5 separate regions of the Homo sapiens genome follow, and all the other regions are linked to region 1. Evidence: promoter capture Hi-C in 16 types of primary human blood cells and fetal thymus (Javierre and others, 2016). All regions are on one chromosome and are shown on one strand. Each heading gives the region's core, a stretch centred on a gene start or on the middle of the fragment in contact. The rest is flanking DNA. Distances are from core to core; before and after follow the strand shown. Region 1 holds the start of RNF122 (ring finger protein 122). Region 2 overlaps RAB11FIP1 (RAB11 family interacting protein 1). Region 3 overlaps ERLIN2 (ER lipid raft associated 2). Region 4 overlaps LINC01605 (long intergenic non-protein coding RNA 1605). Region 5 holds the start of SARAF (store-operated calcium entry associated regulatory factor).

Evidence for each region. The method cuts DNA at HindIII sites, captures the fragments that hold promoters and counts their contacts. A CHiCAGO score of 5 or more calls a contact.
Region 2: a fragment that was not itself captured here is called in contact with the fragment with the promoter of RNF122 in region 1 in 1 of 17 cell types (M0 macrophages); the score reaches 6.2 in M0 macrophages.
Region 3: a contact is called between a fragment that was not itself captured here and the fragment with the promoter of RNF122 in region 1, in 1 of 17 cell types (M2 macrophages). The highest score is 7.5, in M2 macrophages.
Region 4: a contact is called between a fragment that was not itself captured here and the fragment with the promoter of RNF122 in region 1, in 1 of 17 cell types (M0 macrophages). The highest score is 6.5, in M0 macrophages.
Region 5: a fragment that was not itself captured here is called in contact with the fragment with the promoter of RNF122 in region 1 in 1 of 17 cell types (M0 macrophages); the score reaches 6.2 in M0 macrophages.

What each region holds. Positions count from the first base shown.
Region 1 is chr8:33,563,919-33,569,989 of GRCh38, forward strand. It overlaps RNF122 (ring finger protein 122), which reads right to left and starts at 3,210. Exons shown (of 6, transcript NM_024787.3): 1 at 2,781-3,210. The coding sequence starts at 2,805. RefSeq lists silencers at 2,585-2,634, 2,775-2,824, 2,855-2,924, 2,975-3,094. The HindIII fragment of the contact is 8,620 bases long and covers 1-4,172 here.
Region 2 is chr8:37,878,317-37,884,387 of GRCh38, forward strand. All of the region lies in intron 1 of RAB11FIP1 (RAB11 family interacting protein 1), which reads right to left. Among named protein-coding and RNA genes, the nearest start is that of RAB11FIP1, 18 kb to the right of the region's middle. RefSeq lists enhancers at 1,683-2,397, 2,398-3,111, 3,509-3,618, 5,027-5,146. The HindIII fragment of the contact is 1,330 bases long and covers 1,777-3,106 here.
Region 3 is chr8:37,746,452-37,752,522 of GRCh38, forward strand. It overlaps ERLIN2 (ER lipid raft associated 2), which reads left to right. Exons shown (of 12, transcript NM_007175.8): 7 at 3,108-3,181; 8 at 3,343-3,401; 9 at 3,944-4,035; 10 at 5,175-5,264. It also overlaps the pseudogene LOC728024. Among named protein-coding and RNA genes, the nearest start is that of ERLIN2, 13 kb to the left of the region's middle. The HindIII fragment of the contact is 1,883 bases long and covers 2,078-3,960 here.
Region 4 is chr8:37,570,377-37,576,447 of GRCh38, forward strand. All of the region lies in intron 1 of LINC01605 (long intergenic non-protein coding RNA 1605), which reads right to left. Among named protein-coding and RNA genes, the nearest start is that of LINC01605, 26 kb to the right of the region's middle. RefSeq lists an enhancer at 4,350-4,399. The HindIII fragment of the contact is 1,446 bases long and covers 2,924-4,369 here.
Region 5 is chr8:30,082,899-30,088,969 of GRCh38, forward strand. It overlaps SARAF (store-operated calcium entry associated regulatory factor), which reads right to left and starts at 166. Exons shown (of 6, transcript NM_016127.6): 1 at 1-166. The coding sequence starts at 51. RefSeq lists an enhancer at 1-79 and a silencer at 120-489. The HindIII fragment of the contact is 2,193 bases long and covers 2,680-4,872 here.

The sequences.
Region 1 (6,071 bases), core at 1,960-4,459:
GTTTATCCCCACCAACTTATCCTGCCTGATAAAGGCTTCCCCTTTATCTCCCACTGATTGAATCAGTGAGCTTGGTATTTCACGTGATAAAGAGGTCGGTGGGAAGAGCATAGTCAAGAGGAGATGGTTCATTTGCTTGTGTTACTATTAAAGAAATGGCAAAATAGTCTACTGGTCAAAAGCTGACACTGTAGTAAGTTTTTCTTTAAAACTGTATAAGGACAGAGAATACCAGCCCCAGGAAAGAGGGGCTCCAGGTAGTTTCTGAAGGGGTGAGGGAAGGGTTGCTTCTTCACAGGAGTCAAAGGACAGGATCTCTCAGTCACTTTTCTAAGAAGTGCAAAGAGGGCCAGACAAGGTGGCTCCTGCAGGTAATTCCAGCATTTTGAGAGTCCGTGGTGGGAGGACTGCTTGAGCCCAGGAGTTCAAGACCAGCATAGGCAATGTAGTGAAACCCTATCCCCAAAAAGTAGATTAATTAATTAATTAATTAAAAATTAGCCAGTAGCCAGGTATGGTTGCACACACCTGTGGTTCCAGCTATGCTGGGAGGCTGAGGCAGGAGGATCCCTTCAGCCTGGGAGTTGGAGGCCGCAGTGAGCCCTGATCGTGCCACTGCACTCCAGCATGGTTGTCGGAGTGAGACCCTCTCTCAAAAAAAAAATTAAAGTAGGCTGGGCGCAGTGGCTCACGCCTGTAATCCCAGCACTTTGGGAGGCTGAGGTGGGCAGATCACCTGAGGTCAAAAGTTCAAGACCAGTCTGAACAACATGGAGAAACCCCCTCTCTACTAAAAATACAAAATTAGCCGGCCATGGTGGCACATGCCTGTAATCCCAGGTACTCGGGAAGCTGAGGCAGGAGAACCGCTTGAACCCGGGAGGCGGAGGTTGTGGTGAGCCGAGATCACACCATTGCACTCCAGCCTGGACAACAAGAGCGAAACTCAGTCTCAAAAAAATAAAAAATAAAAAATAAAAAAAATAAAGCAGCAAGTCTAAAATCTGATATGAAAGGGCGCTGCCCAGAAAGGGCAGTGTTACTGACAGCTGCCTCATTTCTCCCTAAGTCTCTGTTCCATTGTCTCGGCCAACCTATGAAAGCACTGACATCAGAATGTCTCATCTCATCTGGCAGGCTGGGAGCAGGAATGACGTCAGACAAGGGCTGGCCAAGAAAGACCAGGGGATCTGGGAACTGCTTCTCTTTCCCAGCCAACGGGAATCTTTCCCAGATGCTAGGGTGCAAGGGCCTTCCTCAACCCCCATCCTCTGCCCCCTCTCCCACAAAACCGCCTATCACACACGGCTTGGTTCATTTTCAGGAAATGAGATCCGACCAGCAAAAGGAGGAAGGCGGGGTGGGGGGATGTGGGGTATACATGCTACCCAAACCCTGCCTCAAAACAAAGCCTCTTGACATAATTAATCCAAGATCTGGCAGGAGTCTACTCTAAAGAATGATTTTTTTCCCCCTGTAACTAGCTCGCTTGCCATACTGAGAGATAAGGCCAGCTGCTTCCCATCTCTCTCTCCCAGAAACTCTCCAAGCATCGGAACAACGCGGTCAAGACTAGGACCCCAGGAGGACTGGAGCGGGTGGGGTGGGGGGCGATTAGTATCCAAGGTTTTGAAGTGTCCCGCTCAGAAACACCTACCTTTCAGGTAGCTCGCTGAGGAATCAGACTCCAGCCTAACCCAGTATCACCTGAACCTCCAAAAAGCCTCAGGTGAAATGAACTAACTTAGAAGCATCACCCAGGCCTGGGGAGAAATGGGGCGAGGGGTTGTCGCGTCTGGAGGTGTGGCCTTCACTTGGGCTCAGGAGCAGACACCCTAATCTGGCCTTGTGGCCAGAAACACGGCTCCCGCCAGGCCAGCCTCGCACCCCAGGGACAGCCGGGCGCGGAGCTCTCTGCGAGGGTTTATCAACTCAGGAAAACGGCTTTTTTTTAGATGGAGTTTCGCTCTTGTTGCCCAGGCTGGAGTGTAATGGCACGATCTAGGCTCACTGCAATCTCCGCCTCCTGGGTTCAAGCGATTCTCCTGCCTCAGCCTCCCAAGTAGCTGGGCTTACAGGCATGCGCCACCACTCCCGGCTAATTTTGTATTTTTAGTAGAGACGGAGTTTCTCCATGTTGGTTAGGCTGGTCTCGAACTCCCGACTTCAGGTGATCCGCCCGCCTCGGCCTCCCAAAGTGCTGGGATTACAGGCGTGAGCCACCGCGCCTGGCCGAAAGCGACTCTTTAATCCAGTCTTCCGCAAGCACCCAAGCCACGCCAGCAGCCCGTGGGAAACCAACAAAGCCAGAGGAAGCTACCCCCGCGCCCAGTCCCGCACGCTGCACGGTATACATATTTACAATAGCCTGCAAAGTTTCAGGCCGGGAACTTGAGCTCCCTCTAGGAGATCCCAGCCCGAGTGCGGATTTAATTCTCCTCCAACAACCACAACAAAGAACAGAGTTTGAGCGCACAAAGGCAGGGGAAGGGGGTAGAAGAGCCGGGCCGCCACACAAAGGCCGGGAACCCCTCGGCTCCCACGCCCCCGGCCCGCCGCCAGTCCGGAGGCCCCTTCCAGGCTCTGGAGTGAAACCTGGATAGTTTCAAATTCCGCGCTGTGCAGAGCAGAGTGGGGCGCCAAGACGCCTTCTCGACTGTCCCATTTCAGGAGAAACTTGGTTCCCGAGGGAGGACCAGCGCGCTGCTGTCCGACCTCGCACCCCGCGCCGCGGCTCCCACCAGCCCCACGTAGGCTCGGCCCTCGCCCCGGGGACTCACCGTTACACCACTGGAATGGGTGCATCAATGAAGTCGCGGTTGGCTTCCTCGGGCGAACGGACGCAGGCGGGGTGCCAGGAGGGCGGGGTGGGAGCACTAGCGGCGTGAGGGGCCGCAGGCGGGGTCGGGGCAGCGCGCTGCAGCCGCCCTGCTGGAGAAGCCGAACTCCCTCCGGAGTGGGGGGCTTTGACGAGGCTGGTGTTCAGCCCAACAAAGAGGGACGAGGAGGAAACAAACAAAGTCCCGCGGAGCACAGCCGCACGGAGCGCACGCGCCAAGGGCCCCGGGCTGGGGGAATGTGGGGCGCCGCGGGGCGGGGGTGCCCGGGCTGCAGAAGCCCTCGGCCGGGGGAGGAGGGAAAAACCTTTGCCGGAGGCTCGGATCGGGTTCAGCGGCGCAGAGGTGAGCTGGCTGGGGTTCCGAAACTGACACCCGGCGGTGCACACCCCCTCCCTTTTACTTCCCCCACCAGTCCCCAGGAAAACTCCGCCCCTTGTTCGTCACCCTCCCTCCGACCAATCGGAGCCTTTCTCCTGCCCCCGGCTATTATTTGCAGGCCCAGCCTCCCTTCCCTGGAAGCCGGGAGGATCTTCGCACGGTGGGCGCCTCCCACTTAGTCTTCCCAGGCCTGGGGAAACTTCGGTCTGCAGAGAATGGAGCGGCGACGAGCGATGCCCCGGAGTGGGGGCCTGCCTTTTGCCCAGGGACACCAAGGCAAAGGAACAATTACTGCCACATTGTTTTCCGCCTACAGATCTGTTATTTATTTACTTATGTATTTGGAGGCAGAGTCTGCCTCTATCGCCAAGGCTGGAGTGCAGCGGCGCGATCTCAGCTCACTGCAACCTCTGCCTCTCGGGTTCAGGTGATTCTCCTGCCTCAGCCTCCTGAGTAGCTGGGATTACAGGCGCTTACCACCATGCCCAGATAATTTTTGTATTTTTAATAGCGACGGGGTTTCGCCATGTTGGACAGGCTGTTCTCGAACTCCTGGCCTCAAGTGATCCTCCTGCTTCAGCCTTCCAAAGTGCTGGGATTATAGGCGTGAGCCACCGCTCCCGGCCCTCTTTTTCTTTTTTGAGTTAGAGTCTTGCTCTGTCACTCAGCTGGAGTGCAGCGGTGCAATAATAGCTTACTGCAGCCTCCAACTTCTGGGCCCAAGCAGTCCTGCCACCTTAGCCTCCCAAGAAACTGGGACCACAGGTGCCTGCCACCAAGCCCAGCTACTTTTTAATTGTTTTGTATAGATGAGTGGCCTCACTATGTTGCTCAGGCTGGTCTCGAACTCCTGGACTCAAGTGATCCTCCCGCCTGAGCCTCCCAGATTGCTGGGATTACAGGCATGAGCCATGGCACCCAGGACATTTCATTTCTTAATTGGATAATTGCAAAAGCTTCCTAACTGGCCATTCTGATTCTAGTCTATAGCTCAGACTTCAGAGCCTACAAGAATCACTCCTATGTTTGAGATGTAACATGCAGATTCCCAGGCCTTGAACCCAGAGATTCTGATTCAATAAAGGGTGGACCCAGAAATTTTCATTTTAATGTGCCTTGTCTTCCCCACCCCTCAAATTCTCATGCGGCTATTGAAAGAAACAGTGCTCTGATTTCACTCTCAAGTCCATCCCTTCTGGTCACAATTATCTCTGTAAAATGTAAATCTGAACATTTCTTTGCTTGATAACGTTTGTTGGTCTCCAGTGTTTACTGAATAAAGTTCTGTAAACTAGAGTGTGGCATTCAAAATGTTTCAGTCTAGACTCACTCCTATAATCTCAAAACTTCGGGAGGCTGAGGCGGGCAGATTGCTTGAGCTCAAGAGTTTGAGACCATCCTGGGCAACATGGTGAAGCCACCTGTAAAAAAAATACAAAAATTAGCTGGGCCTGGTGGTGCGCACCTGCGGTCCCAGCTACTCTGGTGGCTGAGGTGGGAGAATCACTGGAGTTCGAGAAGTCGAGGATGCAGCTGCAGTGAGCTGTGATTGTGCCACTGCACTCCAGCCTGGGCGACAGAATGAGACTACTCTGTTTCAAAAAGAAAAAAGAAAAAACTATTAAAATAAAGTGTTTCAGTCTAGCCTTATTTGTTTCAGTCTTCCTCATACTCAAATACTCCCCTTCACCACACACTATTCATCAGCCATGAAGCTTTTTGTTGTTACTCTTCCTTGAACATAGGCTGTGTATATTCTTTTTTGTTGTTGTTTTTATTTATTTAGAGACAAGGTCTGGTTCTGTTGCCCAGGTTTGAATGCAGTTGCATGATCTTGGCTCACTACAACCTCCACCTCCTGGGTTCAAGCCATCCTCCCACCTCAGCCTCCTGAGTAGCTGGCACTACAGGCACTCACCACTATGCCCGGCTAATTTTTTTTTTTTTTTTTTTTTTGTAGAGACTGGGTTTAGCCACGTTGCCCAGGCTGGTCACAAACTCATGAGCTCAGGCTATCTGCCTGCTTCAGCCTCCCAAGTGCTAGGATTAATGGGGGAGGCTATACATGTGTGGGGCTGGGGGTGTATCAGAACTCTGTACCTTCTTCTCAATTTTGCTGTGAACCTAAAACTACGCTGAAAAATAAAGTCTTTAAAAAAAAAAGTGTGCATAATGGTAACTATTGTTCTTTCTATTCATTGGCTCGGGGGAGAGATGTGATGGGTAATCCTAATTTTATTAAGGCTCTCCTGCTAACTGCCTCCAGCGCCAGACTGTGAAAGAAGGAGAGCCTTTGAAGGGAAAATTGATGGGAAGTGAGGAACACCTCCCGTCCCACTCGCCTTTGGACTAGAGGTTCTTGGAAGGAAAACACCCTTAAAGGTAGGAATGATGGAAATTCTTCTTTTTTTGAAACGGAGTCTTGCTCTGTGTCGCCCAGGCTGGAGTGCAGTGGCTTGATCTCAGCTCACTGCAGCCTTCGCCTCCCAGGTTCAAGTGATTCTCCTGCCTCAGCCTCCTGAGCAGCTAGGATTACAGGTGCAACAATTTATATTTTAAGCCTGATATTTTAAGCATTCAATAAGATCTCCAGAGGCACTTAAGGACTCCAATTTCGAAAAACTGCTGTATCCCTTCACACTCTCCTCCCTTCGTCCCTCCTGGCCAGTGTGGCCACAGGACCTCAACTGATGGCTGACATTGGGAGTTATATGTTGGTAGAAGGGCTTTGGTTCTGGGCATCTTTGAAATGATTGGTTCAGTCCCAGCATTTTCCTGGACTGAAGGGTTCTATGAAAGATAAGCTGATTTCTCACACCATGTCAACCAAATTTAGATCTCTCACTCCTCCAC
Region 2 (6,071 bases), core at 1,192-3,691, 4.3 Mb after region 1:
AAGGTCAGGAGTTCGAGACCAGCCTGGCCAATATGGTGAAACCCCATCTCTACTAAAAATATAAAAAATTAGCCGGGTGTGGTGGCAGGCGCCTGTGGTCCCAGCTACTCAGGAGACCGTGGCAGGAGAATCACTTGAACCCAGGAGGCAGACGTTGCAGTGAGCCGAGATCGCACCACTGCACTCCAGCCTGGACAACAGAGTGAGACTCCATCTCAAAAAAAAAAAAAAAAAAAAAAAGCAAAGATCATACACAAACAGTTAAGAAGGGTGGCGTGCAAATGATGTATAATTAAATCTCAGAGAAAATCAAGTTTGTAGTAAGGAATGGTCCCTGCCAGGGAGTAAAAAAATAATAATAATACAACACAGAATTAAAAAAAAAAAAAAAGTGGGGAGGGGGTTGGGCATGGTGGCTCACACCTGTAATCCCAGAGATTTGGGAGCCTGAGGCAGGAGGATCACTTGAGGCCAGGAGTTCAAGACCAGCCTGGGCAATATTGCGAGACTCCATCTCCATAAAAAATTAAAAAATTTGCCGGCATGGTGGTGTGCGCCTATACTCTCAGCTACTCAACATGAGCCTAGGAATTCGAGGCTGCAGTGAGCTATAATTGCACCACTGCACTCTAGTCTGGGTGACAAAGTGAGACTCTGTTTCTAAAAATAAATAAATAAAAATAAAGAATTTTTTAAAAGAGTGAAATCAGGCTAGGCACAGTGGCTCACGCCTGTGATACCAGTACTTTGGGAGGCCGAGGCAGGCAGATCACCTGAGGTCAGGAACTCAAGACCAGCCTGGCCAACATGGCGAAACCCCGTCTCTACTAAAAATACAAAAATTAGCCGGGCATCATGGCGAGCACCTGTAATCCCAGCTATGCAGGAGGTTGAAGCAGGAGAATTGCTTGAACCCGGGAGGCGGAGGTTGCAGTGAGCCAAGATCATGCCACTGCACTCCAGCACTCCAGCTTAGGCGACAGAGCCAGACTCCATCTCAAAAAAAACAAAAAAAAAAGTGAAATCAGTCAGTTAGAAAATGACAAACACTATATGAGTCCACTTATGTGAGGTTCCTGGGTTAGTCAAATTCATCCAGTCAGAAAGTAGAATGGTGATTGCCGGAGGAGGGGAAGGAGAGAATGAGGAGTTAATGTTTGATGGGTATAGAGCTTCAGTTGTGGAAAATGAAAAAGTTCCGGAGATGGATGGCGGTGATGATCACACAACAATGTGAATATTCTTAATGACATTGAACTGCACACTTAAAAATGGTTAAAATGGGGCCAGGCGCAGTGGCTCACGCCCGTAATCCCAGCACTTTGGGAGGCCAAGGCGGGCAGATCACTTGAGGTCAGGAGTTTGTGACCAGCCTGACCAACATGGTGAAACCCCATCTCTACTAAAAATACAAAAAATAGCCGGGTGTTGTGCCACATGCCTGTAATTTCAGCTACTCTAGAGGCTGAGGCAGGAGAATCGCTTGAACCCGGGAGAGGGAGGTTGTAGTGAGCCAAGATCACACTACTGCACTCCAGCCTGGGTGACAGAGTGAGACTCTGTCTCAAAAAAACAGGTTAAAATGGTAAATTTAATGTTACATATATTTTACCACAATAAAAAAAATGGTTAGTTGGAAAGGAAGCCTTCTTCCCTAGCTTAATAATCAGAAAAAGTCACATTTCAAACACTATCCAAGAATTACACTTGGTCATTTGCAACCCACTTCAAGATGTGAAAAATGACATTATACCAGTCCAACTCCACTGAGAGACAAGCTTCAGAAAAAGGAGATCTCATGGCATTCATTTTCCATTTAGGAGCCCTATACCTTTGGTGAACTGTAAGAATGTGAGCCAGGTTGGGTACAGTGGCTCACACCTGTAATCCCAGTGCTTTGGGAGTCTGAGAGAGGAGGATTGGTTGGATCCAGGAGTTTGAGACCAGTATAGGCAACAAGGCAAGATCCCATTCTCCAAAAAAAAAATTTTTGTTTTTTTGAGACAGAGTCTCGCTCTGTCCCCCAGGCTGGAGTGCAATGGCGCGATCTCGGCTCACTGCAACCTCCGCCTCCCGGGTTCAAGTGATTCTCCTGCCTCAGCCTCCCGAGTAGCTGGGACTACAGGTATATGCCACAATGCCCAGCTATTCTTTGTATTTTTAGTAGAGACAGGGTATGGTTAGACAGGCTGGTCTCAAACTCCTGACCTCAAGTGATCCACCCACCTTGGCCTCCCAAAGTGCTGGGATTACAGGCATAAGCCACCAAGCGTGGCTAAAAATATTTTTTTTTAATTAGCTGGGTGCAGTGGTGCGTACTTAATAGTCCCAACTACTTGGGAGGTTGAGGCAGGAGGATCACTTGAACCCAGGAGTTCAAGGCTGTAGTAAGAGCTATGATTGCACCACTGCACTCCAGCCTGCGCAACAGAGTGAGACCCTATCCCTTTCAAAAAAAAAAAAAAAAAATGTGAGCCCAGTTTGTAGCAAGACCATACAATGGGACAAATAACTCCAAATACCTGGTCTATAGTGAGCTGTCCACCAGGTCACCCTCACAAACTGAGAACTCACATTCTGAAGTTCTTTTCGGTGACCTATTTAAGAGCGGAAGGTAGTGGACTTAAAGGAAATGATGGTTTTGCCCAAATGAGCACAACTTCCTCTTTCACCTTCAGCCATGGCTGGTGGCTCGCTCACAGGGCAGATCCCTGCCCCCACTGCTACGGCTCCTTCTACACTTAGAGGAAAGGCACAGGGGAAAGTCGAAACCTAACACCTAAACAGCACCTGTGGCATACCTGACACTGCCTACGCACAGAGACATCTTCATTTCAGCCTCACAAGAACGACACGGAGTAGATATTATACCCATTTTATAGATGAAGAAATTGAAGCTCAGAGGTCTGAGAACTGGCACAAGGTCTTGCAACCACTATGGGGTACAGCTAGGATTCCAAATCAGTTTCCCCTATTCTTTCTCCTATTCTTTCCCCTACACCAAGACTCCTGCTTTAAATTCTCTCCTAATTTATCTTGGATGGGCCATCTTTTGTAACATAGAGAAAAGAGGGTTCAAATTTAAATTCTTTTTGAGAAACATTTAAGCTTCTCATTTAAATGTCCAAAGATGAAAGAAGAAAGGAAGGAAACTAACATAGCTTGCCATCAGTCATAAATCGTTGAGATTACTTAAAGGCCAGTATACAAAGTCATCAAGAAGAACTTAAAATGAATTCACAAAATACAGCAAGGAGAGGATAAAATTATATGAGCTATAATTTTGGACCCTTAGGAGACAAATCTTTTATGGTTTTTATAACCTCAATCCAGAGCTGGGCAGGCGGGGAGTGGTGGGTGTTGCAAGACGCAAGGTCTTTTTTTATTTTTTATTTTTTGCAACAGGGTCTCACTCTCTTGCCCAGGCTGGAGTGCAGTGGTGCGATCATAGCTCACTGCAGCCCTGGACTCCTGGGCTCAAGTGGAAAATGCAAGGTCTTTATAGACAATGTCACCCTTGCCAGCCTAGTGTCTGTCCAATACATTTTCCAGGGCCTGGCCTGGAATTGTCTGCATATTTGTCACTTCAATTTTGAGAGGATTATTTATATTTTTCTCTTCTGACAGTCATGTGGTAAATGGTAGCCTTGGTGATGAAGGGTGTTTAGCTTTTGTAAATACCAGTTGCAGGCACCTGAAAAGGAGAAGTTGCTGAACGCTAACTGAGGAGGTTTCGATGACCTCACCAACCGCAGGCGGGCAGCACGCTTCACCTCCCCGCCCAGGGCAGGAGCTTCAGGCAGGGGTTTCTCCACAGCTCTTCCACACGGGCCCTTCTATTAGCCCTCCACGGGGATGCACAAATGTGACAGGCCTCCAAAGCAGCTGTCAGAGGCATTCAAACCAGTGCAACTCCATCTTGAGTGAGGGCTAGGAAAATGAGGCTGGGACTTGCTGCGCTGCATTCCCAGAAAGTTAGGTATTCCTAGCCTCTAGATGTTTATGGGTAAGGGAACAGATGGATAATGTTTACCAAACAGACCCAGACTTGGGAGTGTTCTAATATCCCCAAATCTGGAGAACAAAGGCTATCCTAATTTTGCTTTGAAGCTAATAATATTGATTCTCACAAAATATAGTAATTAAGAAAATTAATCCTTTATCACAAACCCTTGTAGTAGGGCACATCTCTCAATGATCTTTTTATCCTGTGTATGAATAAGCATAGTGCCTAGAGTGGAGGTGTTCCTCCTCTTACTTTCGGGAACGTCCTACTCTGTCTATGGAGTAGCTGTACCTTCAATACTTTGCTTTCTTAATAAACTTGCTTTTACTTTGCACTGCAGACTTGCCCTGAATTCTTTCTTGCGGGAGACCAAACACTCTCTTTTGGGGTCTGGATCAGGACCCCTTTCCTGTAACATAGCCAGTTGACAATTCCAAGGGCCAGCCTTGCCTTTCCGAAAGTATCAGTGAGGTTTTCTTTGCACTTCCTAATGGTTTTTGAGCAAAACTACAACCGATTCCAGAATCCTCCCTCGGGACCAATTATTACCTGATTCTCAGGTCCAATCCCTGGGTCCTAAAGTGGGATTTGCTTTGGAAACTTCCAACACCATTAGGAAGTGCAAATATAAACGTCACCAACTGTTCTTGCTGCTTAATTTCACAAGCAAACCTAAAGCCAAACACCAGGTAGCCAGGCACCAGCCACGGGGCTATTGAAGGATATGAAACAGGCTGAATCACAGGCCAGCAGGGAAACAGCCCAGGCAAAGAGGCAGAATTTACAAATCTGTGCTCCATGTATTAAAGCTGGAAAGCAAAACAAGAATTGTTTCGTTTTTTTTTTTTTCTGGTTTTTTTTTCTTGGTGTTTGTTTGTTTGTCTGTTTGTTTTAGAGACTGAGTCTCACTCTATCGCCCAGGCTGGAGTGCAGTGACGTGATCTCAGCTCACTGCAACCTCCTCCTCCTGGGTTCAACCGATTCTCCTGCCTCAGCTTGCTGAGTAGCTGGGATTACAGGCGTGCGCAACTATGCCCAACTAATTTTATGTTGGCCAGGCTGGTCTCAAACTCTTGACCTCAGGTGATCCGCCTGCCTCAGCCTCCCCAAGTGTTGGGATTACAGGCGTGAGCCACTGTGCCCAGCCAAGAATTGTTTCTTTTACTAGCAATATTATCCTCAAATTCAAAAACAGTTTAAGCAAGGGATGTTTGATAGAAGCATACTTTGATAAGACAGTGAAAGCCACAGTGCTTGAATATCTTGCCCTAAGAAATCCCAAACCAGAAGAACACATCTGGGGATTTTTATATTTAAGATCAACCCAGTTTCTAAGTGTTACTGCCCATGTGTTTTTCAGTTCACTTAATTCCTGCACCTCACAGAAGTAGCTCATAAATAATAAAGTCCCAGCCTAGCAACACAGCATGTGATGGCAGCGTGGGTGTGTTCCAGTATTATCTTTCACGTAGGCCCTGAAAGCTTGAATTATCTCAGAAATCAGGGTTGGGTCCATTTCCCTAGTCCAAAGGGCAGAAAAAGAGAGCCATAATCCCAATGTAGCAAGTTTATTTTTAAGCCCATATTCTGAAAAAATCTTGCCACCTATCAAAAGTAAAAATCAAATGATCCCTTCAATAAACAAATTATTATTGCTTATCATTAAACTCAGTCCTGCAAGAATTAAAAGGATCTCTGGATATGTAGAAAGTGACATAATTTTATTTATTTATTTATTTATTTATTTATTTTTGAGACAGAGTCTCATTCTATTGTCTATTGCCCAGGCTGGAGTACAGTGGCATGATCTCAGCTCACTGCAACCACCGTCGCCCAGGTTCAAGTGATTCTCCTCCCTCAGCCTCCCGAGTAGCTGGGAGTACAGGCGCACACCACTGCATCCGGCTAATTTTTGTATTTTTACTAGAGACAGGGTTTCACCATCTTGGCCAGGCTGGTATCGAACTCCTGACCTCATGATCCACCTGCTTCGGCCTCCCAAAGTGCTGGGAATACAGGCGTGAGCTACCACACCCGGCCAACATAAAATTTCTATAAACTATAT
Region 3 (6,071 bases), core at 1,769-4,268, 4.2 Mb after region 1:
GGATATAGTTATCACTGAAGCAGTGTGACATAAAATAATACCTATGTATACAACACTCCTCTGTAAATAGCAAATGTAAAGTAAAAGATACACAACAGATCATTTTGTTTATCTCACTATCATTTATTAATCTATAATGTATCCCTCCTATGTATCCATGCAAGGAAGCAATACTAGCTGCCCGACTAGAGGGCAGCTCCCTTGGGTTACTTATTCAGACCCCATTTTCATTCGGATCTGAGCTGTCTTACCCGCTCACTGCAACTTGGCTTTTCCTTCTTTGAGTATAAAGTCTGACATGGGATGGCTCACCTATAGCTTCAGTGTGTTAAGTAAAGAAAGCTTTATGCAGATTCTGGTTTTTAGTGGGTCTCCTCTGACAGTAGAAAGATTCAAACCACAACCAATTCCAAGAACCCTTCTAAGAACAGAGACAGAGTCACTTCAAAGGATCTGACTTGCTATACCTAAATATAATTCACGCTGCTTTTCTCTATGACGTACCATAATATTTTGTCCAAAAATCTTGAAACATGTTATTAACTTTGAAGAAAGAATAAAACCAGCCACTTTAGAGACCAGAGACACTCAAGCACTTATCTATTCATAAAGTTTCTACACAGCTGAAGAAGTTTGCATCAAATGGACAAAAAATAGTAAAGAAAATCTAAATACAGAAAAAAAATTAGAGAAAAATCCATCTCCTAGAAAGCAGGTCAAATGGACTCAGTTAAAGACCTCACTGCATGTAGGAGAATCAATGGGAAACAACATAAAGCCTTCTGCTGGGATATAAATAGGAACCAGTCTATGTAATCAAGAAGTTACTTTGTCTCCTGATCTAAATGCTTGCCTCCAGTCTAGGGCTCAGAAAAAAAGCCTGGTTATTTGAACTGGTTGTCAATCAAGGTCCCCTTCATTTTCACTTTCTTGGCTTCCCATTCAGCCAGCTCTTGCAGTGGCCTCTTGCTCATGCCTTTGCGCTCCAGCTGTTTTTCAATCACTTTGGCATTCTGTGCATACGAGTCAGCAACTTCCCTAGCCTCAATCTCCTCTTCCTCTTCATCAATGGTAGACACAGTGACAGAACTGAACTTGCCCATGTCTTTGGTCCGTTTGGTCATCATCACCTTCTTAGGAGGCTCTTGTTTCTGAGTATATATGTTCGTTTTCCCAAAGCCCTGGCCAAACTTGACGACTGCTCCATCCACAATGAAGGTAACGGGAGCATTCTTCGGCTGGGATTGGTAGAAGAGCAGCAGTCCACACTTTGCACATTTCTTTCTGTACTGTAGTTCAATGCCTTCAGGTCTCCGCAGATACATAGTCTCTTCGTCTTCTGTGTTACAAAACTTATGGGCATGTTTGGCAGCATCAATCACACGGGACCGGTCCCGGGGCCTCATGGGCAATTTCTCTAACTGACAGTCCAGCACTAGGACCACCTGGCCGCACAAACAGTAGTACACATGGAGGGGCTTCTCGCCGTCGTCATATTCCTCCCGGTCCCGAGTGTCAGAGCAGACTACTGACCGAGACACTACTTTCGGCATGGTTTCCAGGAGCAACCTGAAAAACTCTACGCAAAGAAGAGGGTCGCGCCGAAATGACGTCACGAGCGCGCCTTGCGCCTTTTCCCTGCGGCTACCTTAGTAATACAATTTAAATGGCATTTATCAACATTTCCATAACATATAAACATCAATATTACTAAAACAACTTGAAAAGTATTTCTTTCACATTTTTCCGGTAAGCTACTAGCCCAGGGCCACAGGTTTCCACCTTGACAGATATAATTTGGTCTGAGGAATGACGTTATTAACTTATGGAGGATACGGGCCATTTAAAGTTTGGTTGGTATTCTACTTAAAATTACTTAAAATATGAAATGTAATATTTAGTTCTAGTTGTTAAATTGGTTGACCCCTGGCAGGTGTGAGGTGCCGACTTGATGGCATTTCTCCTTCGGTGCTCAGAGGCTTGTGAGAGCACATCCTATATGTGGAAACGTTACCGTCCCTTGTTTACTGATACTACTGTCTTAAAATCCTAACAATCAAGGCCCACCAGTTAAACAAGCTTGTTATTTTTGCTACTAGCCAGCTTTCATGGGCCTCCGTTTTGGCATCAGTGAAAGAGCGGAGACTTTCTCTTCCTCAGAGGCTCTTATTTGAGCACAGGTGACCACGAAAGGACCACTTAAAGCAGATGGCGGCTGACAGCAAAGGAGAGATGCAGTGTACAAGTCCCAGCCTGATTTCACTCTGTCTTTTTCTCTAAGCCCCTCCGGGATCTTATCAAGGATATCATGGGCAGAAGGCAAGGAAGAGGATTCTAAAACCTGAGAAGCCCATGCCAGAGAAGTCAGCTTTGGTACTGCTGTTCTGAGATTGCAGCTGGAAAGGAAGGTGGGGGGAGAGTCAGTTACAGCTGTTCCTACATTTGTCTGTGAAACAACTCATGTGGATTCCAGACAAAGAAATCAGGACCAAAGCAAACAGCACATCAAAAGCCTGGGGCTCGCTTCCAGAACTGTAAATTTTAATTTTCCCTTTGTGTTGTTTGATGGAGTTCCTAATAGAAACAGTCTTCCTTGGGGCTCTCCTTGACGTCAAAGTCTGTTTTTCTTTTAGAAACTTCTAAAATTACTAGATTTAATGTGCTCAGCTCTTTCCACAAAACCTAAATAGCCATTCCACCTTCCTTCTTCTTGGAAACTGTGAACCTTCCTTCTCTTTTGCTGCTATTGTCTAGGGAAAGGCTGCTGCCTCACGCAAGAAATGTGCTAGAATTGTTTGTTCTTCCTTTTTTTTCTTTTTAAGCTCTCACCCCCTGTAGGGCATGGTTAGTATTTTCAGAACAAAGGTTGAGTTTTATCTTGAGGCACAGAAAGAAAATGCCCTTGCGTTCACCATGTAGAGGGCTGCCTGCACAGGCTGCTTCAGAAGTTGGGCAGGGGATCTTTAGATTTGTGGGCTTTGATAAGCACACTCCCTTGGGAAAGTACATTCTTGAGCTGGTGATTGAGCTTGCACTTTACCTCATCCTGCCCTCCCTCATCTAGAAAGTGTAACAACTCCTTTTTCTCCATCTTTTCTTTATTCCAGATCAGATTGATGAAAATCTCAAACTGGCTTTGCAACAGGACCTGACCTCCATGGCCCCTGGGCTGGTCATTCAAGTAAGCATTGCTGCATGGGAGCAGCCCCTCTCTCTCTGACACTGCTTCCCTTCTCCCAAGGGATGTCCTTTTTGTGCAGGAAGATCAAGGCCCAGTGGGAGCTGGGTGTGTCCCTCACTACCCTCACTTTCCCATCAGCTGCTGTTTTAATCTCTCTCCAGGCTGTGCGGGTAACAAAGCCCAACATACCAGAGGCAATCCGCAGAAACTACGAGTTGATGTGAGTATACCCTCCGCCTGGGCTGTGACCACCACTGCCTCCCACCTCCCACCTCGTCCCATCCCAGAGGTAACCAAAGCTGCCAGGCTTCTCGGTTATCCCCTTGCTGGAGGATTTGCTACAGCCCATTGCACTGTAAGATTGGGCAGGCGTGTCAGGGCCACCACTGGGGCTCCCTACCTGTGATTGAGAACCCCAGGATAATCCCTGTAGAGCAGCGATGTTTTGAAAAGGGCCAGGGGGCCTTGTTTGTGTTCAGTGACTCATGCCCAAGGTGGAGACAGGAGCAAGAGACCAGTAAGTGGACAGGCAGGTGTATTTTACTAAATTATGTTTTATTTCCCACAAATGAGTTACTTGGGAGGAGAAGAGCTATGTTACTGTCAACAACAGATCAGCTTTTACCTGGGCCATCGAACAGCCTTCCAGGAGGAGTAGGAAATGGGAGTTTGCCTCTCTTCAGCAGAAGAATTCGACTTACCTGGGGATAGTGAAGCTCCTGAGTTTTCCATAGCTGCCTCACGGCTTTTTCTTCTCTTCAGGGAAAGTGAGAAGACAAAGCTTCTCATTGCCGCCCAGAAACAGAAGGTGGTGGAAAAGGAAGCAGAGACAGAGCGGAAGAAGGCGCTCATTGGTCTGAATGTGGTTCTGTGATCCCCCTTTCCAGGCAGAAAGGCTGGGGGTGGTGGGAAGATGCAAGGAGGCTAAGGCCTGGTGAGACCCCATGGTCCTCCAAACCACTTCCACAGCACAGGAGTGGCAGGTGGACTCCCAGAAACAAAGTTGAAATTGTCAGATCATGGCCAAGGATAATGAGTTTTTTGAGTTTCCACTTAACTCTTAAATGAAAGAAGCCCCACCTGTTAATTCTTTCTTTTTTTTTTCTTTTGAGACGGAGTCTTGCTCTGTCACCCAGGCTAGAATGCAGTGGCACGATCTCAGCTTACTGCAGCCTCTGCCTCAGGTTCAAGTGATTCTCCTGTCTCAGCCTCCTGAGTAGCTGGGATTACAGCGGGTGCCGGCACGCCTGGCTAATTTTTGTATTTTTAGTAGAGATGGGGTGTCACCATGTTGGCCAAGCTGGCCTCGAACACTTGACCTCATGATCTGCCCACCTCAGCCTCCCAAAGTGCTGGGATTACAGACGTGAGCCACCGTGCCCAGCCTGTTAATTCTTAATAATAATGGCTAATACTTAATTAAGCAATTACTGTGAGCCACATACTTTTCTAACCACTTAATATGTGGGTTAAGTCAACCCTCACAACCACTGTGGAGGTAGGTACTGTATTATCCTTAACCTCATTTTATCGAACCAAAGCACAGAGGGGTAAAATACCATGCCCAAGGGCATATGGCAAGTAAGGGGTGGAACTGGGGTTCAAACCAAGGACACTGGCTCTAGAAGCTATGTTCTAAGTCACTGCACCGTATTATCAACAACTAACCTGACCCCTGTCTACAGTGAAGGGCCAGGTAGAACCCTACTAGAGTACTTCATTCTTACAGAATATTCCTTTGGGAGAAGTTCCCTTGTGAAGTTAGGGCTCATGCTTCCTATGTTGGGCCCAGGTCTCCTTGGTTACTGTCTCACACTGATGGAAGGGGACTGTGCTCACTGGCATATCCCACTCTGCCCTTGTGTGCACTCACAGCTGCCCTCTGGGGGCTCTCCAGACAAGCTGGCCCACCAGGACACTCAGCTCGGGTGAAAGGTGAAATTAGTCAAACTCTGAAATGCCAGAACCGTAATCCTCACTATCATTTATTCAGAGGCAGAAAAAGTGGCCCAGGTGGCTGAGATCACCTACGGGCAGAAGGTGATGGAGAAGGAGACTGAGAAGAAGATTTCAGAAATTGAAGGTAAGCAGAAGTGGCAGTCATGCCTGAGTCCTCCTCAGACCCCGCCCTGTGGCCAGTGGGTTGGGGAGCCATTGCCTTTGCCCTTTAACTGTGCTCAAGGATGTCATGATCTCTGTGCAACAGCAGCTTTTCTCCATGTGGAGACTTGAGTTTTGAGGCTATTGTGGCCAGGCTAGCATCTGTTTTCTACTTCAGAGAGCATTTGTTCATTCAGCAAATGTGGCTGGAGTGCCAGTATGTGCCCAGGATTTTGTTAGGCATGAGAAAAAGGAAGTCCCGTAGACCCTGCTTTCTTGGAGTTCCCAGGCTAGCAGGGCCTTGGAGCGGTGGGAGTGTACTCTCAGCAGTTGGCTCTCCCCCTTGCCTTAGCTACTTCTGCTCCAAAGTTGGTCAGTGCCACGGTTTTGGGCTCAAAGTCTGTTCTCCAGGTCTATGCAGATATTAAGCCAGGTTTGAAGAAGACAGATTTTCAGCACCTGTCAGACAGGAGCTGGAGAGAAAGGTTTTCTTTGCTGGCTTTTCTGAATATCATTCACCTTCTGTTCCTGCTTCTAAGCCTGCACCTCCTTCCCACTGCCCACCTCTTACTTCTTGGGGTGGCTTATTTCAAGCAAATTCCAAGGCACAACTGGGACCTCAAGGCCCAGCTTCAGGCTACAAAGTGTTATGTCTAATTATACTCATTATTGGGCCTGTCAGGCTTTGCAGGGGCCCATAGAGGAGCCAGTTAGGATTTCACAGATCAGTGGCTCCTCATTAGGGAGCTCTTAGCAAAGCAACACGTTTTTATTTCTCACAAATACATGT
Region 4 (6,071 bases), core at 2,397-4,896, 4.0 Mb after region 1:
ACCGCGCCCTTCTCAGGATATGGCTGCTGTACTTGTCCATTTCCTATCAAAATTGGACGGGGGAATGCCATGAGACATCCCGGGGACAATCATATTCTTCCCTGGCCCCTGTCATGTGTCAGCAGCCCTAGTCGCCTGATCATTGGGGCCAATTGCACCTGACAGATTGGTGACATCTGTCCCAGCTTTCTCATCTCTTGGCATAAGGAGCCTGAAGTGGCCAGGCATTGGTCATAGCTAGAGCTGACTGGGATTCTTGAGTTACTCCCCATCTAGGAAGCAATACCTTTAGCCCCACATGACATTGAGAAGAAGAAATTCCTCACATGTGTCCAAGGGGATGGTGGTAAGCAGGGTCACTTTTACTTTCAGCTTTTAGCTTTTGGTCCAATATATCCTACCTGTTAGAGACACTGCAGAGCAGTCATTAACATAGGGTGCATAATGCATCCAGGAGAAAATAGTTTATCTTCACAGGGCAGTATTTCCACTAGCTCCTCAGCTACGCCTTCAAAAAGGGTGATTCCGGCCAGGTGACTCATGCCTGTAATCCCAGCACTTTGGGAGGCCAAGGTGGAAGGATCACCTGAGGTTAGGAGTTCGAGACCAGCCTGGGCAACATAGTGAAACCCCATCTCTACTAAAAATACAAAAAATTAGCCGGATGTAGTGGCAGGTGCCTGTAATCCCAGCTACTTGGGAGGCTGAGACAGGAGAATCGCTTGAACCCAGAAGTCATAGGTTGCAGTGAGCTGAGATTGCACCACTGCACTCCAGACTGGCGACAGAGCGAGACTCTGTCTCTAAAAACTAATAATTTAAAAAAAAAAAGAAAGAAAGAAACAGCTTTTTCTTCAAGTTTCCTACAACTTCCACACATACTTCTCTACATTTTTAAATAGAGGTGAAAAATTATGGAGCATTAATTAATGTTTGCTTTACAATCATGACTCCCAAGATTACTGAGCTAAATGTTTCCAGAGTTCCTGTGTCAGCTTTTTATAGTTTCTCTGTCTCCATGCTTAAGGTTGGTCACCTCTGATTGTGTCAGTGTGATCTGCTTAGATCAGCCTTTAATTTGTTGTTTCTAAATGCAGTGGGCTTGGAAACTAAATAGCCAACCATGCTGGGATTGTGTGTTAAATAATCTTAACTAGATTCAAGCAAGGGTCCCCACCTTGAGAGATCTATGAACCTTTAGTGCATGTATTCATTCCACAGTAATTTATCAAGTATGCAGTATGTGCTACTAGGTGCTGGGGATATAGCAGGAAACAAAATAAACATAAAATCCCTTCCTTCATTGGGTTTACATTCTGCTGGGACCAAGGAAAATCGGAGGCATTTATTTTACATACGCAAATGCTGATTTTGGTCACTTACTTGTTCCCTACTGTGTTCCACAGGGGTGGGATTGGTAGATAGTTGAGTGCCCCACGGGTGATATGTTACTGCTCTACTGGCAGTAAATACATGGTTTCTGCAGTACTATTAATAACACAAAGCTCACTGGACGCGCTGGCTCACACCTGTAATCCCAGCACTTTGGGAGGCCAAGGCAGGTGGACCACCTGAGGTCAGGAGTTCGAGACCAACCTGACCAACATGGTGGAACCCCGTCTCTACTAAAAATATGAAAATTAGCTGGGCGTGGTGGCGCATGCCAGTAGTCCCAGCTACTAGGGAGGCTGAGGCAGGAGAATCGCTTGAACCCAGGAGGCAAAGGTTGCAGTGAGCTGAGACTGCACCACTGCACTCCAGCCTGGGCAACAAAAGCAAAACTCCATCTCAAAAAAAAAAAGAAAAAAGAATAACACAAAGCTGATAGAGAGTTATTAGTTCTATAATTCCGACATATTGTGAATCAAATAGGCATTACTGGGCTGGGCTGGGAACTTCACTACCATCTATACCCCGATTTCCACAGGCAAATGTATTCCAAGTTCCAGGCAACTGACTTTCAAATGAACTTTTGGAACAGAACTCATTTGTAAGTTCCAGACTGCCTGTACTTCGCTATAAATGCACCGAACAGCCGGAGCATATTCGACCTAAGGGTTAGAAATGCGAATGTTGGGATAGGAGTTATTTCCCCATTCACTAACGTGGATGCCTCAGGTGACCCACCGACTCCCTCTGAATTTCAGTTCAGACCCTCATCTACTGGGTTTCACTAAGATTTTATTAAATAGACAGGAGTTCTGGTATTTTAAAAGTTCGAAGAACATTATTTAAAAGAATCACTAAGTATTTCTCAAAGCCATGAATAAATAAGGGAATGAAATGAATGAATGGGGAAACTTTCCTGACATTCCCAACACACCTCAAGTGATGTCCCGAAATGAAGAACATTTCCTGGAGGATTGCTTTCTCTTTTTCACTGTGGCTTCTGATCCAAACATTTGTGACAGAAATAGAATGAGTGCCATCACTTCTGGCGATCCCAATGGAGAATCTGGGCTTTGGCAAGACCCAAAAGAAAGAGGCATTTTAGGGGCCGGGCTCGGTGGCTCATGCCTGAATCCCAGCACTTTGGGAGGCTGAAGCGGGCGAATCACCTGGGGTCAGGAGTTCGAGACCAGCCTGGCCAACATGGTGAAACCCCATCTCTACTAAAAATACAAAAATTAGTTGGACGTGGTGGTGGGCGCCTGTAATCCCAGCTACTTGGTAGGCCAAAGAGCGAGAATCGCTTGAATCCAGGAGGCGGAGGTTGCATTGAGCCAAGATAGCGCCACTGCACGCCAGCCTGGCGACAGAGATCCTGTCTCAAAAAAAAGAGGAAAGAAGTGTTTTACAGGAGCCAGTCTGACAGATTATCAAGGCTGGGAATGGACGGAAATGGCTGAGCAGCATGCACTTGTTTGGTTTTTTAAAAAGGAAGCAAACGTGATGCTCAAGAAGAAAATCAAACCAAGAAACAAGCTTCACAAATAATCACTCACCTCCTCCCCAGGGCCAGAACAAGTTTCACTCATAGCTGTAGAAAAGACTCCCTTCTCCTGACTTCCAGGGGGTGGTGCAGGTGTGCAGCCAGCCCTGCTGGGAAGCAGTGCTAGTGCCTCCCAGCTTCTATGACAGGCAGCTGCCAAAGACCCCAGCCCCGAATCTCAAAGTCACATTGTGCTAGGGATGGCCTTTCTCCCACTGCCCTCTCTTCTTCAGCCCCACCCCTGTCCCTCACCCCTGCCTGCCTTTCTGGGAAGGAGGATGGTTTCAGGGAAATGCAGGCACCCCAAGGCCTTTCTTTGTGTAGGCTACATTAATGAGAAACTCAGAGAAGAAACTCTAGGAGACCTACGGAGCTGTCACCAAGTGCATGGGGAGGGAAGATTTATGTTGAGGACCAGGATGTGAACATACCCATGAATTATCCTTCGTGCCAAGGTAAATTGGATGGAGAAAAATATGTGTCAAGGAGGCAGAGACTGGGCTTGCCCGCAATCCTCATAGCACCTGGAGAAAGAGGGTCTCACTTAAATTCACGTAACTACAAAACTATCTGAAGCCAATGACTCTTCCAGGCTTTCTTGAATAAGAATAACTAGCATGGGTTGAGTACTTCTTGTGCTAAGTATCTTACTTGCATTAACCTTCCAAAACTCTATAAAGGTCAGTATTATAACTCTCCCCAAGTCAGAGATGAGTAAACTGAGGCACAAAGAGGTTAAGTAACTTGTCCAAGGTCACACAGCCAGGAGTGTGTGACCTGGCTCTGGTCTAAAGTGAGTATTTAACATAGAGGCACTCATTTCATCTCAATTACAACACAATAAATCATCTACCATTATTACATTTTACAGATGTTAATAGCTAACACTTTTGCACTAACTATGAGCCAGGTATTGTTCTAAGGACTAAGCAAAAATGTGCACACACTCTTTCCCACCATACTACATCATATTGTACCCATGGGAAGTACATAGAAAACTTTGAAGTAAGGAGGAGGGGGCCGATGCGTCCCCTCTCCCCTTAGAGAAGGACACATCCCTTCTCCCCCAGTGGCAGTTACCAGCATTCAAGAGCAAGACTACGGCGACCTTTAGAAACAAGAAACTTGCTCTTCATGATCATGCAAAAAAGACTCAATACTTTCTGTGGAGTCTCAGCAGCCTCTAAGAGGAACAGAAACCGGTGAACGCAAGTGCTGTGGCTACTTTTTGTTTTTAAACTTTTCAGGGGTAACCACTGTGAAACTTGGAGTGTATTTCCTTCCGTCTTTTTCTATGCATCTATAAATAGACCATAGATTTGTAGAGATACATTTTTATATTCTATCTTATTCACTTAGCATTATCTCACAACCATTTTCCTCTTTCTGGGAGGGAATGGGATGTAGTGGTTAAGACCACAGGCTAAACCATCAGAAAGCTTAGGTTCAAATCTTGGCTCTGACACTCTGTGACCTATCAATTCACTGGGACTTAGCGATTTTTTTTTCTACTTTTTTCAGTCTTATTAAGGTATGATTGACAAATTTGATTGGCATAACAGCATAAAATTGTTGAAAAATGATAAATAAAAAGAACCAAACATACTGCCTTTCCTACATGAGCTATATATCAAGCTAACCAAAGAGTTGGTGAGGAAAGCACTTCTTTTTTTTTGTAAACTTTTAAGTCCAGAGATACATGCACAGGTTTGTTATATAGGTAAACTGAACGTCACGAGGGTTTCATGTAAGATTATTTTGTCCCACTGGTAATAAGCATAGCATACGATAGGTAGTTTTTTCTGACCCTCTTGTCAGAGGCTTCTGAACCAGAGCACCTCCATCTTGAATAGATGCTGGGTAAAATGAGGCTGAGACCTACTGGGCTGCATTCCCAGGAGGCTAAGGCATTCCAAGTCACAGAATTAGATAGGCGGTCAGCACAAGATACAGGTCATAAAGACCCTGCTGATAAAAACAGGTTGCAGTAAAGAAGCCGGGCAAAACCCACCAAAAGCAAGATGGCGACAAGAGTGTGGTCAGCCTCACTGCTCATTATGTGTTAATCATAATGCATTTGCATGCTAAGAGACACTCCCACCAGGGTCATAGCAATGTACAGATGCCATGGCAACATCAGAGAGTTACCCTATGTGGTCTAAAAAGGGAAGGAACCCTCAGTTCTGGGAATTGCCCACCCCTTTCCCAGAAAACTCATGAATAATCCACCCCTCGTTTAGCATATAATCAAGAAACAACTATAAAACTGGGCAACCAGCAGCCCTCGGGGCTGCTCTGCCTACAGAGTAGCCATTCTTTTCCTTTCTTTTCTTCCTTAATAAACTTGCTTTCACTTTATGGATTCACCTCAAATTCTTTCTTGTGCGAGATCCAAGAACCCTCTTGGGGTCTGGATTGAAACCTCTTTCCAGTAACATCTTTCGCCCTCCTCTCACCCCACTTCTTTTTTTATTTATTTTTAAAGATTTAGGGGTACAAGTGCAGATTTCTTACATGCATATATTGCATAGTGATGGTGCCTGGGCTTGCAGTGTACTCATCACCCAAACAGGGAACATCATACCCAATAGGTAATTTTCAACCCTCACCCACCTCTCACCTTTTGGAGTTTCCAGTTTCTATTATTATTCTCTATATGTTCATGTATACACATTGTTCAGCTCCCACTTATAAGTGAGAATAGGTAGTATTTGACTTTCTGTTTCTGAGTTATTTCACTGAGGATAATGGCCTCCACTTCTGTCCATGTTGCTGCAAAAGACATGATTTCATGCTTTTTCATGGCTGAGTAGTATTCCATTTTATATATACCACATTATGTGATCCAATCATCCACTGATGGACATATAAGTGGATTCCATGACTTTGCTATTGTGAATAGTGCTGCAACAGACATACAAGTGCAGGTATCTTTATGATATAATAATTGCTTTCCCTTTGGGTAGATACCCAGTAGTGGGATTACTGGATCAAATGGTAGTTCTATTTTTAGTTTGGAAAGCACTTCTGTATAGAATTCCAACTCTAAGTGCAGAAGAAATGATAAAATTAGAAAATCACCATTTGGCAACCTCTGTTCCAATACTTTTAATAACATCTTCCTCGTCACCAGATTTTG
Region 5 (6,071 bases), core at 2,526-5,025, 3.5 Mb before region 1:
GCCGAGGAGCAAGCAGTACCCGGCCGCTCCCGGCCCGCAGGCTGCGGCCATGGCGCTCGATGAAGATGGCGCCGGGCTGCCAGACGCCTACGGGCCGAACCTGGGTGCGGTAGCGCGCGCGACGCTGCGCAGCTACACCGCTACCCCTGGCGGCGGCGAAGGAACGGCCCGACTGCAGAGCTGCAGCCGCAACGGATCCGTGCGCCAACCCTACGTCACTGCCGCTGCGGCCCGTGGGGCTCAGTGAGTGGCCGCCGTGGGCCCCCGCCCCTGGAGCACAGCGCGGCTTGGGGCGGGGCGAGGCGGTGTGGGCGGGGCCAAGGGCCTGGGGAGGCACGGCTGGAGGCGGGTTGGAGGCGTGGCGCCGCGGTGTGGGCGGGGCCGAGGGCCTGTCGCCGCCGCGCCCGCGGGCGGGGCGAGGGCAGCGCGCAGCTTTGTTGTGTCTCGTCTGAGATTCGGGAAGCTTCTGTGCGTAGGCGATGCAGTTTGAGAGGCTGAAAACGTCACGACGCGAAATCTAAGAAATGTAGTCAAATTATGTATTATTAAAACCTCAATAATTGTACCAAGGGTAGTTCTGTGCTTTATTCAGCTCTATGTGTTCAGCACTTAGCATAGCGCTTGGTACATGGTTAGTGTTCTATGACTGGTTGCTAAATACAGAGAAGATTCAAGCGAAAAGTAACAGGGAAATACATTGTCTGGTTTCAAGGCTCAGAACCTTTACATGGTTCCTTGCGCATGGAGGCCGGAAGACTATAAAATGTCAAGAGGAGAAAATATCGTCTGAATGAAGAACCAGCCAGAGAAAACAGTTCTCTGGGCTTTTGAGGTCTAGCAGGCTTGGGTTTCTTTCATTCATTCATTCATTCATTCATTCATTCATTCATTCAATGAATATATGTTGAATACCTAATACGCACCAGGCACTGTTTTAGGCATGGATGGTACAGACAAGATCCCTGTACTCATTGAAATAGAATAGGACAAACGACATACCAATTAAACAACAAAAATAATAGGTAATGATAGGTAATAACATTGATGAAAAACAGGGTGATATAATGGAGCCTGGGGACACAACTTCAGGGAGGGCCTTGCTGAGGAAGTGGTTTTTGAAGCTTGGGACCTGAATGATGAGAAAGAACTAGCCGTACAAAGATCAGGGGACTCATCTTCCCATCTGGGGAACAGTGGATGCAAAAGCCCTAACTTTGTGTTTCGAGGAAGAGTTATTTGGTCAGATCCTATAAAGAGTTCAGTCCCACAAGATGGCCCCAACTTCAGACATCAATCACAAGTCTCAGGTTGTGACCTATGCTTCTGACCAACCAGCTATAAATTAGGGTTTCCAGGCCGGGCGTGGTGGCTCATGCCTGTAATCCCAGCATTTTGGAAGGCCAAGGCAGGTGAATCGCCTGAGGTCAGGACTTTAAGACCAGCCTGGCCAGCATGGCAAAACCCCACCTCTACTAAAAATAGGAAAAATAGCTGGGCGTGGTGGTGCACACCTGTAATCCCAGCTATTTGGGAGGCTGAGGCAAGAGAATCGCTTGAACCTGGGAGGCGAAAGTTGCAGTGAGTCAAGACTGCCCCACTGCACCTGGACCATGGAGAGAGACTCCCTCTCAACAAATAAATTGGGGTTTTCATAACCCCCCATCTTGAGTTCCATAATTTGCTAGAATGGCTCACAGAACTCAAAAAAACACTTTATGTTTACCAGATTATTATATTGAGCACCTATTAGTACCTAACAGTACCTGCCAGGCACTGTTATCAGTATTGGGGATACAGCAGTGAATAAAACAAAATTTGGGGGACAAGAGGCAAACAAGGCCATAACTGAAGCAAAGTAAGTTAGGGGAAGAGTGGAATAAGAGATGGCAGAGCAGTGGGGCCTCGGCATGGAACCAACCAATGCTGGGACCAAGGACTGAAATAAGAGATAATAGAGAATCTATGCTCAACATGTTAAGTTTGAGGTGACTATTAGGCATCCAGGTAGACGTGTCAAATAAATAGATAAACTGTAAAAGTCTGAAGTTCAAAACTAAGGTAAATTTGGTAGTTATGTTGTAAATATAAAGATAGCATTTAATGTCATGATGCTATTGTTTGAATGTGTCCCCCAAAGCTCATGTGTTGGAAACTTATTCCCCAAAGCAATAGTGTTGAGAGGGGGGACTCTTAAGGGGTGATTAGGTTATGAGGGCAGAGCTCTTAATGCTATTATCACAGGAGTGGGTTAGTTATTGGGGAGTGGGTTCCCGATAAAAGGGATGAGTTCAGCTCCCTTTCTCTTTTGCCTACCACCGTGAAATGACACAGCAGGAAGCTCCCCACCAGATGCAGGCCCCTGGACCTAGGATTTCCCAGCCTCCAGAACCATAAGAAATAAATCTCTATACTTTATAAATTTCCCAGTCTCAGGTATTCTGTTATAGCAACACAAAATGAACTAAGACATGTGGGAAGAGACACAGTAACATGAGAGAATTGAGATACCACAAAAAAGGAGGCCCAGGCTATGGAAACACTAACATTTGAACCTCAAGCAGAAGATTCTAGAAAGAATCTGAGAAGTAACCTCTGGTGAAGAAGGAGGAAGAACTAGGACAATAGGATATGGTAATTGAGAGAAAGAAAGAATGGTCAACAGTGTCCACTGTTGCTGAAAGCTTGAAGCAAAATTTGGTCTCTGAATTTTGCAATGTAGAAATCACTAATTACCTTAACAAGAGAATGTTTGTTATTTTAGATTCCCACCATGTACCATGTACAGTTCTGGACAGTCATGAACAAAAGATGAAAGGTTGTTATAATAAACATTCTAGTGGGAGAGGTAGCCAACAAATCATGTCATTTCAAATAAATAAGTGCTTTGGGCCAGGCACGGTGGCTCACACCTGTAATCTCAGCACTCTGGGAAGCCGAGGCTCAGGATCACTTGAGACCAGGAGTTTGAGGCCAATCTGGGCAACATAGTAAGACCCCATCTCCACAAAAAATTGTTTTTAAAAAATTAGCCAGATGTGGCCAGGCACAGTGGCTCACGCCTGTAATCCCAGCACTTTGGGAGGCCGAGGTAGGCAGATCATGAAGTCAGGAGATCGAGACCATCTTGGCTAACACAGTGAAACCCCGTCTCTACTAAAAATACAAAAAATTAGCTGGGCATGGTGGCGGGTGCCTAAGTCCCAGCTACTCAGGAGGCTGAGGCAGGAGAATGGTGTGAACCCGAGAGGCGGAGCTTGCAGTGAGCCAAGATCGCACCACTGCACTCCAGCCTGGGCGAAAGAGTGAGACTCCGTCTCAAAAAAAAAAAAAAAATAGCCAGATGTGGTGGCATGTGCCTGTAGTCCCAGCCACTCAAGAGGCTGAGGTGGGAGGATCACTTGAGCCCTGGAGGTTGAGGCTGCAGCAAGCCATGACTGCATCACTGCACTCCAGCCTGGGCAACAGAGCAAGACTCTATCTCAAATAATAATAAGTACCTTGAAGAAGAAAACAGAGCAATATGACAGGTAGTGCCATAACAAGTAGGATGGCCCAGAAAAGATTCTCTGAGAAATTACCATTTGAGCTGAGAGCTAAATGATGAGGCTGTAAAAGGAAAAAACAAACTGTTTTCTCCTTTCTACTGGCACAAAACACAGAGCAGTTCTGTGACCAGAAGAGGGGCTGGGGGAGTATTTCCCTACACACCAACCAACTCTAAAGGACATCAACACGATGTCCTATAACTCAATTCAAGTTAAGGGCCCAGTCTCCCACAAGACTGCCCCAATTCAGACGTCAGTCCAGGAAAATATTTTATGTTTACCAGTTTATTGTAAAGGATTTATAAAGGATACAGATGAACAGCCAGATGAAGAGATGGATAGGGCAAAGATAAGAAGGCCATGGGGCTTCCATGCCCTCGCTGGGCACTCCACCCTCCCAGCACCTCCCTGTATTCAGCAACCTAGAAGCTCATGAAATCTTGTTGTCTAAGAGTTTGTATAGAGCTTAATCTCCAGCCACCCGCCCCCGATCTCTCCTGTTGGTTGGTGGGTGGGCTGAAATTTCCAACCCTCTAACACTCTAATCACATGGTCTTTCTGGTGACTGACTTTTTGGTGTCTGTAAACAATACAGTATAACAACTATTTACATAGTATTTACATTGTTATTAGGTATTATAAATAATTTAGAGATTATTTAAAGTATACAGGAGGGGCTGGGTGCGGTGGCTAACACCTGTAATCCCAGCACTTTTGGAGGCCCGAGGTGGGTGTATCACTTGAGCCCAGGAGTTCGAGACCAGCCTGGGCAACGTAAGAAGACCTTGTCTCTACAAAAAAAAAAAAAAAAAAAAATTAGCCAGGCATAGTGGTGCATGCCCGTGGTCCCAGCTACTCGGGAGGCTGAGGCAGGAGGATAGCTTGAGCCTGGGAGGCAGAGGTTACAATGAGCCGAAATCACACCACTGCACTCCAGCCTGGGTGACAAGAGTGAGACCCTGACCCAAAAAAAGATTTTTTTTCCTCTGAGCTTTCTCTGAATCAACCTGTAAGAGTTAGTAATTCTCAGTTTACAAAATTGTGAAGAGGATTAAATGAGATGAATGCTAAAGCACCAGGCAAATAGCACCTGCTGAAAAAGTAAGAATTCCCTTCCTCTCATCCACATTCTCATCTCCACCATTTAACTTTGGAGAATGGAAAACCATCCATATAAGAAGTATTGAAACTGAAAGGTAACACTAATTAGCTATTACATAACAATAGAGAACATTTAAAGGATATGACATTAACTAGCATTTAGGGTTCCCTTGGAAAACTGGTGGAGAAAACTGACATTCTACCTTTTTTCCGACAATGACTTTCAAGCTTTGCTTTAGTTTGCACAGGAATTGTTTGAGATTCTTGTTAACTTTTCAGATTCCGGGCTTTACCCACAAGAGTTCTAAATTCAGAAGGTCGGGAGTAGCAGTCAAGAATTTGGAAGGCATCCCAAAGTATTCTGCTTTAGGTGGTCCTTGAAATACAACATTTAGACACACTGTTTTTAAGGTCTCAAGTGACTGTGAGAGGTGACAACGTGCTAGCAGCCCTCGCTCACTCTCGGCGCCTCCTCAGCCAGGACGTCCGCTCTGGCCGCGCTGGAGGAGCCCTTCAGCCTGCCGCTGCGCTGTGGGGGTCCCTCTCTGGGGCTGGCCGAGGCCGGAGCCGGCTCCCTCCTCTCCCGGAGAAGTGTGGAGGGAGAGGCGCGGGCGGAACCCGGGGCTGCGCCCGGCGCTCACCGCTCGCGGGCCGGCGCAGGTTCCGGGTGGGCGCGGGCTCCACGGGCCCAGCACTCAGCGCAGCTGGCCGGCGCCTGCTGGGCTTGATCAGAGGCTGGGTCCCGTGCGTGCACCGCCATTCCCTCTTCGCAGGGTCGTTGGCCAGAATGGCGGGTCTCCCTCTCTTTCTCGCTTCCCCTCTTTTCCTCTTGGTTGTCTGGGACAAGCTCCTTCTGGGCTACTGGAGCACCCGGGGTAAGTGCCGCAAAATCCCGCGAAGAGCGCCAGTGAGAGGTGAAGCCGGCTAGGCTTCTGGGACCGGTGGGGACTTGGAGAGCTTTCTGTCTAGTTAAAGGGCTGTAAATGCACCAATCAGCACTCTGTGTCTAGCTAAAGGTTTGTAAACACAACAATCAGCCTCTGTGTCTAGCTAATCGGGTGGGGACTTGGAGAACTTTTGTGTCTAGCTAAAGGATTGTAAACGCACCAATCAGCACTCTGTGTAGCTAAAGGTTTGTAAATGCACCAATCAGCACTCTGTCAAAACGGACCAATCAGCTCTCTGTAAAATGGACCAATCAGCAGGATGTGGGTGGGGCCAGATAAGGGAATAAAGAAAGGCCACCAGAGCAGCAGCGGCAATCCGCTGGGGTCCCCTTCCTGGGTGTGGAAGCTTTCTTATTTTGCTTTTTGCAATAAATGCTGCTGCTGCTCACTGTTTGGATTTGTGCTGCCTTTATGAGCTGTAACACTCATAGCGAAGGTCTGCGGCTTCATTCCTGAAGCCAGCGAGACCACGAACCCA